2 separate regions of the Homo sapiens genome follow, and region 2 is linked to region 1. Evidence: promoter capture Hi-C in 16 types of primary human blood cells and fetal thymus (Javierre and others, 2016). All regions are on one chromosome and are shown on one strand. The core of a region is centred on a gene start or on the middle of the fragment in contact, and the rest is flanking DNA. Distances in the headings are between cores, read along the strand shown. Region 1 holds the start of VPS4B (vacuolar protein sorting 4 homolog B). Region 2 holds the start of NARS1 (asparaginyl-tRNA synthetase 1).

Region 1 (3,553 bases), core at 453-2,952:
GGCCTAATTTTTGTATTTTTAGTAGAGATGGAGTTTCACCATGTTGGCCAGGCTGGTCTCGAACTCCTGACCTCAAGTGATCCACCCACCTCGGCCTCCCAAAGTGCTGGGATTACAGGCGTGAGTCACCACGCCCGGCCCATCTTTGCTTAAATTATAAACTCAGTTTCTCCCACAGTTAGTTCAGCCTATGCTCAGGAATGTACAAGGACAGCTTGGAGGTTAAAAGTAAGATGGAGTTGGTTAAGTTAGATCTCTTTCACTGTCTCAGTCATCATTTTGCGAAGGCAAATTCACAAGTGGGAAGAAAGGACGGGTAGATGCAGGGCAGAGAGAGGGCTCTGTGCTTCGAGCCTGGATGATACAGATTTGGCAATACTATTCTAAGGAGAGACCAGAGAAAGAAGTTTAGGGTAGAAGGTAATTAATTAGAGTATGTTGAATTTGTCTTGCAGAAAAACCCTGTGAAGGAAACCTCTGGGAGGCTGTTGTAAATGCTGGGCTGGGGATGGGGTGGGTCTAGAGATCCAGATTTGAAGCAATTTCTAGTCTATTGATAGCTGAAGCTCAAGAAGAGAGTTAGATGAGCAGAGGTGAAGAGAGAAGAGGACATCAGACTCTTGAGTAAATTCAGCTTAAGCTCAGGGAGGAGTAAGAAAGGGAGACAGTGAAGGAAGCAGATAAGGAATATTGGGAAGCTGGACAAACAAGAACTGGGTAGTTGACAATACCAATGAAGAGGGAAGAGGAGAGGACTTTAATTCTTTCGGAGATGCCAGATGAGAAAAAATTAAGAAATGAGTGAGAAAAAAATGATGGAGTGATTAAACATCTATGTTGCTTTCCTTTGAGAATGTTAACTATGAAAAGAAGAAAAGGGTGGTGGTGGCTGCAAACCATAGGAAGGCTGAGAAAGGGTTTTACTTTGGTTCTGCCTCTAATCCCTGACGCATTCAACCTCCTCAAGCCATTTGCTTGTAAACATAACTGGCATAAATAATATCTGATATGCCCATTTTACAGGACAAGTGCTTCCCTCTCAGACCACATACTCGAGGACAGCGGCCGTCCACGCCTTATTTACATTCATCTTCCCAACACAACAGTCATTTGGAAGATGCCGAGTGGCGTGGGAAGAACAAGCGGGAACGAGCGCCGACCCGCCCGCGGCCTGACTGCTAGCGCACCGCTGTGCGGCCGCCTCACCGCGCACTCCCTCCTGAATTATTCACCACCGAGACGAGGACGGTGATCGCCCCCATTCCACAGAGGACACGGAGTGAAGGCGCAGTCACAGGCCCAAAGCCCCCAGTCGGCGGGTCTTGGAAATGGACGACTTTTTCACTCAAAAGCTACGAGGCAACAAAGCATGTGGATGAGGAGGGAAGGGAGCCGGGGCCAATAATTCATCTCAAAGTAAAAGACGTCCCCGGGGGTGGGGAACAAACAAACAACAAAACCCGGCTCTGTGCTTCCGCGCTTGCGCTCTCCTAGGTCTGCCAGGCTGCCGCCCGCGCCTAGGCCAGAGTCTCAGTGCGCCTGCGCCGAGCCCGACTTCCGCCAGGGCTCGATTGGCTTCCAGGCTACTTCTCCCGGCCCAGGGAGGGCCTGCGCTGTGGCTAGAGAAGGGAGTCTGGTGACTGGGTGCGCGTGCTGATGACGAAATCGGAAGTGCCCGGAGCAGAGGCGGGACCAGAACCTAGAGGGCCTCGGGATTGCGGAAGTTTGGTGGGGAGGGTCGGAGCTCTGGTGGAGAGAGTGTTGTCTAAAACAAGTTCCGGAAGGGAGGCTGCCCTTCGCGGTCCGAGAACCACCGGCCTCCCCAGTTTGAGGGCTGTTACCCCGTGCGCGCTTCGACGTTGCTGCTGTTGGCTCTCCTCGCCCCTCGTTCCCTTGGGAACCGCCTGGGAACTCCGCCATGTCATCCACTTCGCCCAACCTCCAGGTATCATTGCTCATCTCCCGTCCCCCTAGGGAGCTGGGATCGAGGGGAGGCGCGAGAAGCGGGTGGGGGGCGGGGAGAAGGGAGGAAGCGGCCGCGCCTGTGGTCGAGGCGCAGGAGGGCGGGTCCGGGGACCTGCAGCAGGTGGGAGAGGGGCCCGTTTTCCAACGGAAAGGTCGTTTCTGGCCCGCTCTTGGGGTCTCCCGAGCTACTGGCTTTGTGAGACTCTTCACTTTTGTTGACACTTCCCGCTTCCAAACCAGCCAAGATCTGGGCAGGTTTCTCCAATCAGGGTTAACGGAGAAAGAAAGAACGTAATTTTTGCAAAGCCCTATTCTGGACCAGTTGAAGATAGGGTGGTCATAGTTCGGTCTTAGTTTCTCAAGCTGACAGCAGACCCCTTCATTCTGAGCTGTCAGGTGAGTAGAGATATGGGAACAGACCAAGAATCTGAGATTACAGCCAGCCTGCATGCAATCTCCGTGAAGTCATTGAATTTATGTGCACACTCCTGTGGCTCCCAGATGGTAGTGTGTAAGATCGAGGAGTATTCTTAAACCTCTGTGTGGCTCCACTTCCCCTCCTCTACCGCAATGAGCACAGTGTTTTGTACACAAATCATGGAATCTTAAGATTTTAGGCTTAATCGTTAGTCCTCTGTGGAATGGAATTCGTTCAGAAAAGAAATTTCTTAATGTAATGGTGTCTCCCATCCCCAGAATGGATCTAGGGCTTCAGTGGCGTTTAGAATGTAATGTGGCTTAATGTAGAGGACTCCCAGTCCAGTAAGTCAATAAGGCACAAAAGAGTAGCCTAAAATACTTGTATTGAGTCCCCGTCGTGGACTTCCGGTAGTTTGTTGAACAAGCAGTTATTGGAGTGCCTGACAGAGGCATCAAAGGTAATGGAAGAACTCCTTAACCCATGATAATTGATTCTGAAGAAAGACCACTCAAAGTAGACCCACTTAAACAGAGATTAAAATTTCACACACACATACACAAAAAGAGTGGGAAAGGAGGCTTGCTTGGGACTTTCATCTTGAAAATCGACCTAGAAGATTATTAAAATAATTGTTATCTTTCACAAAATATTATAATTGTATAATTGCAACAATGACTCATTTTGTGGAATAAGTCAAGTGTTGATTTGTCTGTGTTTTTTTCCTTTTCTTTTCTTTCTTTTTTTTTTTTTTTTTGAGACGGAGTCTTGCACGGTCGCCCAGGCTTGAGTGCAGTGGCGTGATTTCAGCTCACTACAACCTCCACCTCCCAGGTTCAAGCGATTCTCTTGCCTCAGCCTCCTGAGTACCTGGGACTACAGGCACCCACCACCACGCCCAGCTAATTTTTGTATTTTTAGTAGTAGAGATGAGGTTTCACCATGTTGGCCCAGGCTGGCCTCTTGACCTCAGGTGATCCGCCTACCTCAGCCTCCCAAAGTGCTGGGATTACAGGCGTGAGTCACCGTGCCCGGATGACTATCTTTTTCACCAAGGTTGTATTAAACTAAGATTCAGCAATCTTCACTTGAGTTTTTTGTAGCTTTTTGTAGTCCTATTTGGAAAGGTTCTTTTTGGTAAACGTATTTGGAAAAAGCGTTGGTCATTTG
Region 2 (3,553 bases), core at 270-2,769, 5.8 Mb after region 1:
CTTGATCCCAGAAGTTGGAGACCAGCCTGGGCGACACAGGGAGACCCCTCCCCCATCTCCACAAAAATAAAAATAAAATAAGCCAGGCGTGGTGGCGTGCACCTATAGTCCCAGCTACTTGGGAGGCTTAAGTGGGAGGCTCACTTGAGCCCAGGAGTTCGAGGCTGCCGTGAGCTATGATAGCACCACTGCACTCCAGCCTGAGCAACAGAGAAGACCCAGTCTCCAAAAAAAAAAAAAGCCCACCAAAAAAGTAAAAAAAAGTTGAAAATGATGACAGACCCTTTATTAGCACCTCTTACATGCCCGGGCAGTGAATTTATATCATCTTTCACAAATAGAAAAACTGAAGCTCATTCAGATTAGGTAATTTATCTGAAGACACAGATAAACCCCTCTCAGCGCCTGACTCTCGGCGCAATCGGGATGTTTCGCAGCGGGGCAGGGGCAGGGGCCGGAGCCACCGCCATCGCAGCCCGGGGAACAACGGACTCGGGGAAGCCCGGCCTGGCCCTTCAAGTCCCGGGCCCAGCAAGGGCCAGGACCCTCCCTCCCTCCCTGCAATCGGTCCCAACTCGCTGAATGAAGCTCATTCAGTTTAGGTAATTTATCTGAAGACACACGGTTAGTAAAAGGCAGAACCCAGGTTTGTATTCCGAAGCCCTCGTTCTTTCCACCACATTATTATGGCCTTCCTAACGGTAATCCTTACAATTTTAAATGAACATATACCATAGCTCCTCTCCTGAACACCGAGGGACGCTGGCTCACGGAGTTTAGAAAGTTAACGCATCTGGCCGGGCGCGATGGCTCACGCCTGTAATCCCAGCACTTTGGGAGGCCGAGGTGGGCGGATCACAAGGTCAGGAGTTCGAGACCAGCTTGACTAAGATGGTGAAACCCCGTCTTTACTAAAAATACAAAAATTAGCTGGGCATGGTGGCACAGGCCTGTAATCCCAGCTACTCGGGAGGCTGAGGCAGAAGAATCGCTTGAACCCGGGAGGTGGAGGGTGCGGTGAGCCGAGATCGCGCCACTGCACTCCAGCCTGGGTGACAGAGCGAGACTCCGTCTCAAAAAAAAAAAAAAAAAAAAGGAAGTTTACGCAACCCGCTGCGTCCCCTCCACCGCCGCGCACCCCGTCTCGCAGCTGGCGCGGTGTTTGCTGGTGACATGAACTCAACCAGCCTCCACCATCTGGGGATCGGGGCGACATCCTTGGTCTGGTTTGCAAGAGGACCCGCACGCCTCCAGCTGGGGCGGAATTGGAAGATTCAGAAAGGAAAGTTGGGGAGGCGGGGAAGGAAGGGTGCAAAAGTGACACTGTGCCAGGGTCTCCAGGGCCGCGGAGCTCCGGGACAGGCAGCGCCTTCCGAGCTGCACAAACGCGTGGGGCGGGGCGTCTCTGGATCCGGAAGTTGCCTCTGCCCTCACCAAAGATGGCGGCCCCGGCGCCGCTCGCCCACCTCTCGTAACCAATGGAACCGCGGCGCTCGGCCGATTCTCGCAGGCGCCCTCAGATCTACGCTCTCTGATGCAACGCCGGAATCGCGGAAACCGCCGGTGCACGTTGGAGTCATAAGACGGCGTCGGTGTTGCAGTCTGTGTCCTTGGAGGTGACCAGGGCCACTGCAGGCATGGTGCTAGGTGGGTGAGACTCAGTGTATGGCGCGGTGTTCCCTGCCTGGGGCAGGAACTCTGCTCCAGTCGGGTTTCGGCGCTTTCCTTAGTGCCTACCAGAGTGGGCGCCCCGCGAATGTTTGGGGACCGATTGCAGGGAGGGAGGGAGGGAGGGTGCTGGCCTTTGCTGGGCCCGGGACTTGAAGGGCCAGGCCGGGCTTCCCCGAGTCCGTCGTTCCCCCGGGCTGCGATGGCGGTGGCTCCGGGCCCTTCCCCTGCCCCGCTGCGAAACCTCCCGATTGCGCTGAGACTCAGGCGCTGGGACGGGTTCAGACACAGGGTAGCCCCTACTCCTGCAGTTCTTCAAAGTGATCGTCAGGAAGGGGCTTTAGGATTCTAGTTGTTTTTCTCCCACCCTCATTTTTTTATTGAGGTTTCCGGGGAGACCATACTGTGCAGTAGGAAAAAAAAAAAAAAAAAGAGAGAGACCTGGATGGATGTTAACTGTTCAGACCTACTAGTTGTGAGGCCTTCTGAAATTTTCTAACCTCAGAGCTTCTGTTTCCTTTAAAGTCCAGAGGGAGCTGGTGTTTATTTGCCATCTCTACAAAAACTGGCACTGGGATATCTGATTTGTATGTGTTATTTTATTTCATCCTCAGCACAGCCTTTCAAGATGGGGATTGTTTTTCCTATTTTATAGGTAAAGAAATAAGCTCAGAAAGGTTAAGTAAATTCTCCAGAGTCACCCTGCCTTTTAAGGTACAAAATCCAACATTCCAGCGTATGTCTGATCAACTTCAAAGCCCATATTTTATTTTTGGGTGCCCAATTAGATAGAATAAATATCACAAATTAAAATGATCAGAGTTCATTTTGAAAACCTGGATTATTAACTAATGTTTTTATGAGATGGATGTTATTGAAATGGAGTGGGGAAATAACTAGGATATTAATTACTTATGGACCTCAATTTTTATTAATCGATGCTTGTTCTGTTTACAAAGATAAGGAATGAATAAAGTAGTAAGGTGACTAATAGTTAATGGCCAGACCATAACTTACCCTCATTTTGTCAAACAGCAGAGCTGTACGTCTCTGACCGAGAGGGAAGCGATGCCACGGGAGATGGAACCAAGGAGAAACCATTTAAAACAGGTCTAAAGGTAGAGTCTCTTCTCATTAGGAAAATGAGACTGCATTTATTAATGAGTTATGTCAATTTTCTTGTGACTTGCCAAGAACTTAATTTCAAACACTAGGTTCCAAAGAGAATTTTCAGAAAAGGGAAAGTAAGGAATGCATACAGATATGTGACTTTAAGATTGTTAGATGATCAAAGTCTAAACTTACTTTTTAACATTTTGAAAAAAGGTCTCTTCTTTCTTACCACATGGCATTGCTTCTTGGAATTTTTCTCTCCATTGAGTCAGATTGCTGGGTTTTCAATTCTTGTAAAGATAAAAGTTACCTTTCCTCAGTTACAGTGAGCTCATGACCAGGGGGCTCCTGAGAGGGCTTTTGGTGAATTTACCACAATCCAGAGTGTGATCCTGAGATTTGACTCCAAGACCACCAAGAATGGATTCATTTGTCAGAGCTGACTCATGAGTCTGGAGCTTCAAGCTAGAATGCCAATTTATTAACATTCTGTTAATGAATTAACAGTGCTGTTATTTCTCAGGATCTAGAATCCTTGAATGAGTTTAGCTCATTCTCAAAGGGGTTTGTCAAGAGCTTGGACTCAGGCCTGGTGTGGTGGCTCACGCCTATAATCTCAACACTTTGGGAGGCCGGGGCAGGTGGATTGCTTCAGCGCAGGAGTTTGAGACCAGCTTGGGCAACTTGGTGAAATCCTGGCTCTACAAAAAACATAAAAATTAGCCCAGCATGGTGGTGCGTGCCTGTGGTCCCAGCTACTCCGGAGACTGAG

What was found. The method cuts DNA at HindIII sites, captures the fragments that hold promoters and counts their contacts. A CHiCAGO score of 5 or more calls a contact.
Region 2: the fragment with the promoter of NARS1 here is called in contact with the fragment with the promoter of VPS4B in region 1 in 1 of 17 cell types (neutrophils); the score reaches 5.1 in neutrophils.

Annotation. Positions count from the first base shown.
Region 1 is chr18:63,420,625-63,424,177 of GRCh38, reverse strand. It overlaps VPS4B (vacuolar protein sorting 4 homolog B), which reads left to right and starts at 1,702. Exons shown (of 11, transcript NM_004869.4): 1 at 1,702-1,945. The coding sequence starts at 1,919. RefSeq lists an enhancer at 1,535-1,834. The HindIII fragment of the contact is 6,978 bases long and covers 1-3,553 here.
Region 2 is chr18:57,619,802-57,623,354 of GRCh38, reverse strand. NARS1 (asparaginyl-tRNA synthetase 1) reads left to right here and starts at 1,519. Exons shown (of 14, transcript NM_004539.4): 1 at 1,519-1,647; 2 at 2,704-2,786. The coding sequence starts at 1,638. RefSeq lists enhancers at 1,246-1,585, 966-1,670. The HindIII fragment of the contact is 17,897 bases long and covers 1-3,553 here.